2 separate regions of the Homo sapiens genome follow, and region 1 is linked to region 2. The links are contacts of gene promoters, found by promoter capture Hi-C in human tissues and cell types (Jung and others, 2019). All regions are on one chromosome and are shown on one strand. Each heading gives the region's core, a stretch centred on a gene start or on the middle of the fragment in contact. The rest is flanking DNA. Distances are from core to core; before and after follow the strand shown.

Evidence for each region. The method cuts DNA at HindIII sites, captures the fragments that hold promoters and counts their contacts. A contact is called where the count stands out against the background at its distance.
Region 1: a fragment that was not itself captured here is called in contact with the fragment with the promoter of LIG4 in region 2 in 1 of the 25 tissues and cell types used here (stomach).

The regions. Positions count from the first base shown.
Region 1 is chr13:108,574,649-108,580,300 of GRCh38, forward strand. It overlaps a transcript of MYO16 not described here. Among named protein-coding and RNA genes, the nearest start is that of MYO16, 52 kb to the right of the region's middle. The HindIII fragment of the contact is 5,236 bases long and covers 1,695-5,652 here.
Region 2 is chr13:108,211,631-108,217,011 of GRCh38, forward strand. LIG4 (DNA ligase 4) reads right to left here and starts at 3,906. Exons shown (of 3, transcript NM_206937.2): 1 at 3,854-3,906; 2 at 2,908-2,980. RefSeq lists an enhancer at 3,831-4,125 and a silencer at 3,969-4,108. The HindIII fragment of the contact is 8,794 bases long and covers 758-5,381 here.

The sequences.
Region 1 (5,652 bases), core at 3,063-5,562, 360 kb after region 2:
GGGGGCCTACCAATAACAATTTGTGTGTGTGTGTGTGTGTGTGTGTGTGTGTGTGTGTGTGCGCTTGTGTGTATTTGTATATGTATGAGTGACAGAATAAGAGATTCTTTTTTATCCTACCAAGCATTTCCTCTCCCTCAGTTTGTTAAACACAGTTGTTAATCACAACAGGGTCAAAGTTTGGTTAGGAAAAAAAGGAAAACTAGATGGGGAAGTTCTCACTTGACTAGTTCTATTATAAGGTGTACTGACACACTCCAGTGTGACTAGTTCTAGTATAAGGTGTACTGACACACTCCAGTGTGACTAATTCTAGTATAAGGTGTACTCACATACTCCAGTGTGACTAGTTCTAGTATAAGGTGTACTCACACACTCCAGTGTGACTAGTTCTAGTATAAGGTGTACTCACACATTCCAGTGTGTAGAGCTAACCCTGTCACACCTCAAGTGTTCATGGGTTTATCAGATGCCCTCTATCCTATGATGACCTTTGAATCCTTAGACATATTGAACAGTCTCTATTCCTGGGTTCACTTCTGCAGCCCCAAGAATCTGGTGATTCCAGTCCTAGCTTTTCATCTGCTTAGAGCTTGTACATCTCTCCAGATTGCACAGAGAATGAGATTCAAGATGACCAACCCGCCAGCTATGTTTCCTTCTTGACCTGTATGGGTCCTAGGACGACATCATACATCCTTTGCCTGCACACCTCTAGGGAGGCTGATAGGTCTCAGTGTTGCAGACCTCAGGCCCTTGCTCTGCTGCCAAAGGGACAGCTAGTCCTTTTTTGCACTCTAGATGGCTGAAGGAAAAGCCAAGCCTGAGCCCCAGCACCCATTAACTGTGTGAAATACAACAAGCTCTCAGTCCCACAAAAGCCCTTTGAACCTTTCTCCCTTGGGGGAGAGAGGCACAGACCCATAGCACACTAGCGGATTTCCCCTAATAAACTCTCTACTGAAATTTTCCCTCCCCTGCCAATACCGCCCTATGTCCTTTTGATGTGAGTTTTACCAGTTATTGGTATTCTGCTTTCACTTTGGTTACAAATGTATGCAATGGTCCCCTGCCCGCCCGCGTATACATTTCTTCTCTCTGTTCCGTGTTTCTGGCCATGGTGTGGTGCCTACGCTCTGGTTAATTCTGTCTTTCCCAGCCCTGTACCTGGCAAGGCTAATAATACCTTAGGAAGTGCAGGTGTTGCAGAAAGATTCCAACCTAATTTCCAGCAGGTGAATGGATATGCCATAGAGTTTAAATCCTTCTAGGTAGACCCTTTCAAGTCTCGGCAACTGAGGGCCTATGAGATAATGTTTAATACCAAATCTAGCTGGGGCTGGAAGGGATAGAGAAAGGCCAGGCCAAAAAGCTGATTGTCAAGCGCTCAGGGCTAGCACCCTAAGACTAAAGAAAAAGGCAAATCTGGAGACCAGATTTGAACACGTAAGTCATGCTCAGAGAAGCTGGTAAGCTGAAGTTCCAAAACTACAGAAAGGACTTACACATATGAGAGTGCAAGATAATGAAACAGGTGGCAGATGTAGCACTAGAGACAGGTCAGATGTGGAAATTCTGCATATTGGACCTAGAATGAATCCTGGCTCCTAGAAGGAGGAATCCTCACTTAGCCACCGCAGTCTTTTAAACACAGGCTCTGTACATCCCTGGAGGGATGACCTTGGGACTTCCACGTTGTAAAGTTCTTTTGGGAAGTACTGAAGCCTGAGAGTTAGTGCATTGGCCACTGTCATACTGAGGAACAACCAGCTGGTAATATTGTCTTCTGCTATGAACTGAAGGAGTGAAATGGAAGAGTAAAATGTGGGATGGAAAACAATAGTAATTATATAAAGCATTGTTATTTATTCGACACACAAAATGTAAGAATCTATGCTATCTGAAAAATAACATCTTTAACTAATTCTTTTTCATTTTGAAAGTAACTGCTCTTAGTTATGAGTGATTTTATTCAAATAATCCATTGAATTATGAATATAAAAGTTATTGTCCTTTTGGCAAAATTGACTGTAACATATTTTTAATAATTTTAGGGGCATTTCAGCTTTAAGTTGAATTCCCAGTGAACTTTGCAGTGTTTTTCTTTTCTTTCTTTCTTTTCTTTTTTTTTGAGACAGGATCTCGCTGTGTTGCCCAGGCTGGAGTGCAGTGGTGCAATCACGGTTCACTGCAGCCCCAACTCCTGGACTCAAGTGATCCTTCCACCTCAGCCTCCTGAGTAGCTGGGACTACAGGCATACGCCACCACATCTGGCTAATTTTAAAATTTTATATAGAGACAGGGCCTTGCTATGTTGCCTAGGCTGGTCTTGCACTCCTGACCTCAAGCGCTCCTCCTGCCTCAGCCTCCCAAGGTGTTGGGATTACAGGCGACAGCCACTGTGCCCAGCTTGCAGTACCTTTCCATTTGATTCAATTTTTCTAAAATTCCCCACCATACAGTTTTCTTGAGTTGTCCTTTTCATGAGGTGTTTGGTCATTTTTTGTTTAATGCAATATGACATTTCACTAACTTTTAAGAGCTATACAAAAATGAATGAGAAATGCCACATTGATGTAATTAACCTGTCCTTGGAGTGTGCCTTCAGGAGAGTAGTGACTTAGAGGAGGGAATGGCTAAAGGCTGGATTCTCGAGGCAGATAGCCAAATCTGGCTATTAGAGAGCCTCAATGTCTCATATATAGGATGAGGATAATGAGAGATCTCCTTACCATGTTGTTGTGTGCATATAATACACATAATAGAAGCTCTCTCTGTGCTCCAGCACCGGGCACCAGCACAGCGTGGTCTAGTTTATTATCTTCCTGACTTCATGGCTTTAATTTCTGTCTCTCTCCTCCATCTGGAACACCACATCCAACTCTTCCTGCCAGCATCAATTCTGCTCTACCCTTCAAGGCCTCACTCATGTCCCATTCTTCCTGGAATGCTTCCAATCCACTGTGTGTTATATGATCACTTTTAATATCTATTCCTGAAATAGTGTTTTCTCTCCATCACTTGGTATTAAAGTTGTCAGACACTTTGCACTGACTACAAGACATACTTATAGTCCCATTTACATTGTAATCATTTTGATGCTAGGAAAGGTGATCGAGAAGTCTTTTATTGACAAGGTATTTTAAATGACTAATTAACAAGAAAACTATGTATCCATATATTTATAAAAATCCCTAAACTTGCCCCTTTTACCCCACCCCGATATCTCCTCCTGATCATCTAATTCTATTTTCATTCCACTTGAGGAGTTGTATTTGAGTAGCTTAATATAAGAGACAAAATAGCCCCATCAGGGATCTTTTATCCCTTTACTACGCAAGTATATATTGTGTGCTCCTCTTTATGTTTTGATCAAAAAATTAGTTTTTAAGAAGATCTGGAAAATGAAGTTTTCAGGATTAAATTACTTCTATTTCTTTGTTTTTTACCTGGCTTGAGAAGCAGTTACCAATATCAAGCTTGGCTTTAAGGTAAGTATTTGACTTCATATTTATTCGACACATAAAAAGCTGCCGTCAGTTGCCAGGATTTGTGCATTTGTCTGAAATGACCTAGTAAAGCTGGGAAATCTGTGTAGGGTTTTCCCATGTTTAATTCAATAATTAAAATACTAAAAATGTTATGTAAACTGCCATTTGAAGAGTGAAAACCAGATAATGAGAAACGTGTTTATATAACAAAATATCTCATTGCAATCCATTTCACAGTTCCTATTTTAAACCCAAATGGGAGCAATTATGCAAAATTAAATATCGAGGTAATGGCAGTGCCAGATGTCCATTTGAGGACTTTAAGACTGGAAATGACCACTTAGAAAAGGCATGTTATAAACAAGCATCTGGCCCAGGATTCCATATCCCTTTTTGTTTGGTGGGTGCTGTGTACTTATAAAGACTCTCCTTTTGAAGAAAGCTGCCAGTGTCCTTGCCAGGGGTCCCACTCTTCCCTCCTTGCCTCATCTTCCCCACTGGGATGTCTGGCTGGAAAAACAACCTGGCATCCTGGTGCCCATACATTTCTCGTGTTCAACTTCAGAATATGGGTACTATTCGTCGAGATACACATCACTAAGAGCATTGCGACATTTTCACATCCCCAGGTCCTTTACTTTCTAATTGGTCTTGTGGTGTGTTCATAACTATGGACTGCATGTGGATCACAACAATTATTGGGAATACATTTTCAGCTCACATATATATTTATTATACATTATAATTATATGTATTATGTATTTATGTATTATTACATATATTTATTATATAATAAATACATATTTATTTTACATATACAGTTATATGCGAGCGTCAGAACACTGTAAATATAATGGCTGTGAAATTATATCTTTAAAGTCTTATTATATTTAGGACCATGGAAAATTTGAAAGGGGTTAATAATATGATTTTTTCCTTTGTAGGGGATGTTAGGGTAGAAAGACCAATGGCATCTTCAAAGGCTGCTTGGCCTCTTGTGGAAACTTGGACAGAGTGGTGGCCCATGCCCTGTGTAGTTATTTGCAGTTACGGTTGTGTGTCCTTACCAATGTGGAAGTAACTTGTGTCTTTTGACTGAGTCTCTTGCAGTTTTCCCATGAGTCACCATTGCCTTGCAATAACCTCAGTAACTAAATGAAAAGCTGTTAGAAATTTAGTATCTAGAAGGATCATCTCAAAGATGACTGAGTTAGAGCCTGGAAGAGAAATCCGTTTGAATGCATTTAGGTCTGAAGGATTAATGCTGATCATTGAATTTCTATAAATGCTAAAGGCAAGAATTTTTTTTTTTTTTTTTGAGATGGAGTCTCACTCTGTCACCCAGATTAGAGTGCAGTGGCGCGATCTCTGCTCACTGCAACCTCTGCCTTCCGGGTTCAAGCAATTCTCCTGCCTCAGCCTCCTAAGTAGCTGGGATTACAGGCGCCCTCCATCACATCCGGCTAATTTTTGTATTTTCAGTAGAAACGGTGTTTCACCATGTTGGCCAGGCTGGTCTCAAACTCCTGACCTCGTGATCCACCTGCCTCGGCCTCCCAAAGTGCTGCGATACAGGTGTGAGCCACCATGGATGGCCAAGGCAAGCTTTCTTTTTTTGTTTTTTGTTTTGTTTTGTTTTTGATATCTCCAAATTAAGATAATTCTGTAGAAAAATAAAGAGCCATGCCTATTGTTTGGGCATTTTAATTAATGCATATAGCTGGCCACTTCCTAAATAATATTTCAAACTGCTATTACAATGACTGCTATTTGTTAAGTAAGAAACCATTTGGAGTTTAGGTGATTTGTGATCAGGTGTTTTGAAATTCATGATAATTTATAGATCCAGGGATTCCAATGACATTGACTAATTGACTGCATTTTCCTGAGTGGCAAATAATATAATTCAAATACGTAATAAATCAATGTTTGATACTTAAAAATATAGATGATAAAAATAAATTTAAAAAATAAAGTCAATAAAAGAGTTCTAATTAATGTCATGGTTTGCACATACTGAAACACTTAAACAGGAACATTTTGCTATACTGCATCCCTGGATAAACATTTTCCTATACAGCATCTACAGATTAGAGGTCCAGTGTCTCTCTTTACTAAATCATACCCATAATGCAGACCTTGAGATTTCTATGCTTAAAA
Region 2 (5,381 bases), core at 2,656-5,155:
TAATGGTGACAAAAAAACTCATCAGGCTTAATTCACTTCACTTCTGAGCTTCTGAGGGAAGGCCTTTCATGTATGTCTCTTCTTTCCCTGTCAGACTACCACATAGCACCAGAAATGAACTTGATCTTCGAACAGATATTTTTAACAAATCACTCATTTGCTGAACTGAAATTTGACTTCCTAGAAATCCTAATCATAGGCAGGGCCCTTGACCAAAAAACAAAACAAAGGAAAAAACAGGTACCCTCTTCTTCCAGCCAAACAAAGCCTACGTCTATGTTTCCTTTCACTTCTTCACTGCTAGCTATGCCAAATCACACCAGCATTCGATTCCAACTCAAAATGCCCTACCCATAAAATCCTCACTTTATCTATTTTACCATAGTTACTTACTGTCTTATAAGTATAAATTTATTAGTATGCTGCTTTTTTCATATTTCCATGCCAGTTATTCCCTGAGTATTTAATGACTACATATGAGATGTGCTACATACACTGTGCTAGGGGAAAATACTGCATGTTTCTGCTTTAAAAGAAAATATATTCTGTAAAAAAAAAAAAAGAAAAAAAAGAAAAGAAAAAAAGGGGGGGAGTGTAGTGGAAACTGAGTATAATAAAATGCCAAGTGCTTTAACAAAATAAAACAAACGTAAAATGTCCTGAGGGGAGAGCTTTTCCCTAAAGTATCTGCTAAAGTCAGAGAAGAAATAATGGGTACCTTGCTAAGCTAGGGCAAGAATATTTCCTAAAATTTCACAAGTGTAAATTTCTTTAGTTTTAAATATTCATACAAGTTCTACTGGAAGATAAATATATTAGAGTAATTTTAATATGGTTTAAACTATGTAATGTTAAATAACTTTTCCAAAAAAAGATTTCAAGTAAAATGTATGGTCCATGAATAGAAACTATGTTTTATCCTGTGGTTTCAGACCCCTCCTGGCACACCACCATGTATCCCAGGCAGTGGAGTTGGAGAAGTTTTGCTGGGAGTGGGGAGATCTATTACAGTGCAGAAAATATGTGACTCCCCATCTTCCAATTCGCAAACAAATGAGCAACACACACATGCACAAGGCTACATTATCTAGTATCCAGTAAAATAAATCAAATGGCTAATTACAATACTACATTTACTATACTGTCAGTATCTAGAGGCCAGGAATTGTGCTGTAATTTGTGCTCTAGTGGCAGACATGTAGGAGGTTTGCTGAATGAATTACTGAACACCTAGAGTTGACTCCTGGATAAGCACACTAGGGAAAGCTATGGTCTGGTTACATACCACACACTCACACACGCACGCAGACACACAGTGGGTGAGATTCAGTTTGGTTAAAAATATTCAGTAGCTCTGACTGCCCTGGCAATGGTTTACAACAGCCATTTGGTGGCCTATAGAGAAAAAAGGTGCACTTCTCAGTCTAATTTCTGACAAAGGAAACCCAGCTTCTACTGAGTGGGTTAGATCGAGGGATAAACGCATGACAGACCACTTTCCTGAAACTTTTATCTTTGAATATACTGTTGTTTCCTCTCTCTGAATCTGGTTTGCATAACTGACTGTAACACCTGGTTATGTATGTTCACTGCCCTATCTCCCAAAATTTGCTCCCTCAAGGGAGTAAACAGGGTACACAATGCTATATCTACAATTTCTATATAAACTATGTAAAATAAAGTAGGTTAACTAATATTTCTTTAATATTCAAATATTGGTATATAGTTTCTACAGATATATCTATAGATTCTACATGGTCTCAAAGTTAAAGTTTCGCTCAACAAATCCCAGGCAAGGACTTAAATTACTTTATAATGACAAAATGTAGGTAATGGTGTGGATACACATGTATCCTAAAATGGCTACGCCTATAACAAGGATTCCAAAATTGCCATAAACTAGTCGTAAGTATTTTTGCTCATTACAACGGCATAAAAAGTCAAAGATTAGGACTTCCATTCATTTTTACATGCTAATTTTATTTTTTGGATTCTGAGGATTTTAGCTGATTCATTCCATTTGCAGTAAGACAAATGAGGAGGTTCCTGGTTAGGGCTCAGGTTTTAGACTCTAATAAATCTGAGTTCAAATGTGGATGGTAACATTTAACAGCTGTGTGATACTGGGCAATTACTTAATTTCTCTAAGCTTCAGTTTCCTAAAGTATAAAATGGGGTTAAAAACTATGTAGAAATTAGAATGAAGATAAAAATCAGATAATCTACAAAATGTGCTTTAAAAAGTAGTAAGTCTTGATAATTTTAATACTATAATGCTTGCTGATCCAAGCAACATTTAAAATATAAATATTGCAAAATATTAACGAGATAAAAAGGTGGGAAGAAGCTTCACTCTTTAACAATAAGCAAAGCTTTCAGGAGAATGAATGCAAGCAATTAGTACACAATAACGATTCATCATTCATTCAGTTCTGACTAAATTGTCCTGAAGTGACACATGAAAATAAACCGGCAGGTTTTATTCAGTGACTATGGAAGGTGATTAAGTGCTATGCTATTGCACTTAAAAAAGAGAGAGGAAAAAAAGGAGTAAGTGACGAATGCAACTGAAGTATCCTTCATGCAACCCTTGACAAGCTGTGTTTCCCTAGGAAACAAAGGGTTTACAGCTGCCTATCTTCCACAGCACTTAGTGACAATTTGGGACAATCTCAGCAAAAAGAAATGAGCAGACAAAGACGCTAGAAGGGCTTTGGGATCCCAAAAGTTAATGAAAGACCAAGTGTAAGAAGAGAAATAAAGTAATTCCCTCCAAGCCTAAAGTCTCTCCCGCTCCAATGCCCCCTGTACCCTCTCGGAAAATGGAAAATCCCTAAGGAGTCTACATCATTCCTCTGCCCGTTCCCCCTACTCTCCCCCAACCCTTCACGGATTCCCAGTGAATACCTGGCCTCGGGCAAGCTCCGTTACCTCTGTGAACCAGAGAATCCCAGCTGTAAAATGAGATCTTGATGGTTTCCTGCGGGGTTGCCATGAGAAAGAATCAACATGTACGCAGGTAAAGCAGGCAATACAGTTCCAGGGAGTCAAAAACGGGAGAAATCGTCCCACGACCTGGGGCTTGGGTCTAGATGAAGAGCACAGCATCAGGAGGCCAGGCTTCTAATGCGGCGCAGTCTACAGCGCTGTGGACTCGGCAACTCCCATCACCTGCCGCTGCACAAACACCCTGCTTGCTGCCCCCATAGACCGACCCCCGCCTGACGCCTCCCAGACCCCCCCACCTGACGCCCCTCAGGCCCCCCGCCTGACGTCCCAGACACCCCCACGACCGGATCCCCCAGACCCCCAATCTGACGCCCCACTTCCCCTACTTGACTCCCCACACATCCCCCGCCTGACGACCCCCCGACCCCCGCCTGACGTCCCAGACACCACCCATCTGATCCCCCAGACCCCCAATCTGACGCCCCACACCCCCCACTTGACTCTCCACACACCCCACACCTGCCACCCCACGTAAACCCCGCCTGACACCTCACAGACCCTAACCTGACGCCCCACAGACCTCCCCCGCCTCCTGCCGCCACACACACCCCAAACCCCGCCCCGAACACCCCCCACCTGCCGCCCCACAGATTCCCCCCTCTGACGCCCCACAGACCCCCAACGTGACGCCCTACAGACCCCAACCTGACGTCCCACAGATACCCCGCCTGACGCCCCACAGACCTTCCCCCGGTCTGTTGCCCCACAGACTTCTCGCCGCCTGCTGGACCACACCTTCCACTTGACTCCCCCCACACCGTCAATCTGCCACCCCCCACCCCCCCCACCCCAACCCCCCCCAACCTCCCAACCGCCCCCACCTGCCACCCCACACCCTTCCCACCTGACGTCAAGCCTGAAGCTCAGCCGCTAAGCCGGAAGCTGGCGCCAGAAGATGCCGGTTCCGCCAGCTGCTCGCCGCGCAGGCGCAGGGGAGACCCGGGGCCTTGCAGTCACCGGGCTCAAGCACGCCGGCGCAGCCAGGCTCGCGATGGGAGGTGGGGGGGCCGGCAGCCCCGTGGGGCTGCGGAGGCGGGACCTGCAGGATCCTGGTTAGGGTCTTGAGTACACACGGCTCCTATTGGCCTCGGCAGCAGATGCTCTCTGCAAGCAGTTGATCCACACGCCAGTGGATTTTGTCTCGAGGGAGACCTAAGATCACTTTGTGCTCTGGCTAGTGATAGCCTCTAATTCTTGTTCTCTGTACGTAAAACAGTGGTAACTATACTGATTTCGCTGGTTGTGAAAACTCCCAAGAGAGAACAGGACATCCTCCCAACTCAAAACGTTGGTTGTTTCATTTAAACTTTTAAAAAATAGGCTTTTGCAAACTATATAGAGCTGTTTTTTTTTTTAAATGATGTTTGCTACTGTGGTCTCAGTTCTCTTAATACAGAAATAATACATAACAATACATAACTTACAATATAGAAATAAACCGTTGCATGACCAGAAATCAACTATGGACTCTTCTAGTATCTGTTTAAGGTTTAAAAATAAAGTTATTTAACAAACCTTTATTGAGCACCTATTATTATATAGTAATGGTGCTAGATATTCAGGGTGGAGAGATTATAAACAACCCCAGTTTTTGTGTTCCAGGAGCTGTTGGTTTCCACCGAATTTTTGCTGTGGTCAGTCCTCTTTCGCCATGGAGAAGTGAGAAGTTATTCATAAAGAGGGGTGGAAACAACTTTTAGAACTATTTTATTTTAGCATAAAATATTGCTTTACAATAAAATAAATTTTGCTGCAGTGGGCCCTGATAAAACATATTAGAGCTGTTAAGTGCCCTTAGAGGTTGTGTAATGTATAAAAACCTCCTTTTTCAAAACTGACACATTTCATTCAGTGCTAGTTTGTAGCGGAGGTTCCGTCTAGCCCAAGAACATTCAGTTATTTACTTCGTATGTCTAATTGACCTAATATGCCTGAATATCTAAAATCATCTGTGATGTTGTAAAGTCTCATGATATTGTTTTGTGAGTATCTGCTCTTCAATTTAGTTATCAATTTATTTTGGAGGAAAAATGAATAGTGTTAAGGTAGAGGAGCCTCCACTTGCCCATCTTAGGAGAGGGTACCTATCCGTGTACATTTGTAGCTTGTTCAACCTCTACTGAGCTCCTACAATGTCAGAAGCTGGACTTTGTATTAGTTACATGAGAAGAACCATGAATTATGAAACCAGGCAAACTCCAAATTGATTCAAAGCCCAGTCTCCATTTCATCATGTTATTTTAGTTGATTGGTTCAAAGACAATCAAGGGTTTTTTTCACTAAGTATCTTCTAGAGTTGCCATGATTATTAATTTATTTATGTAAATGGTCTACTTTATATATGCTTGGCACTTATTCCGTGATCAAGATTA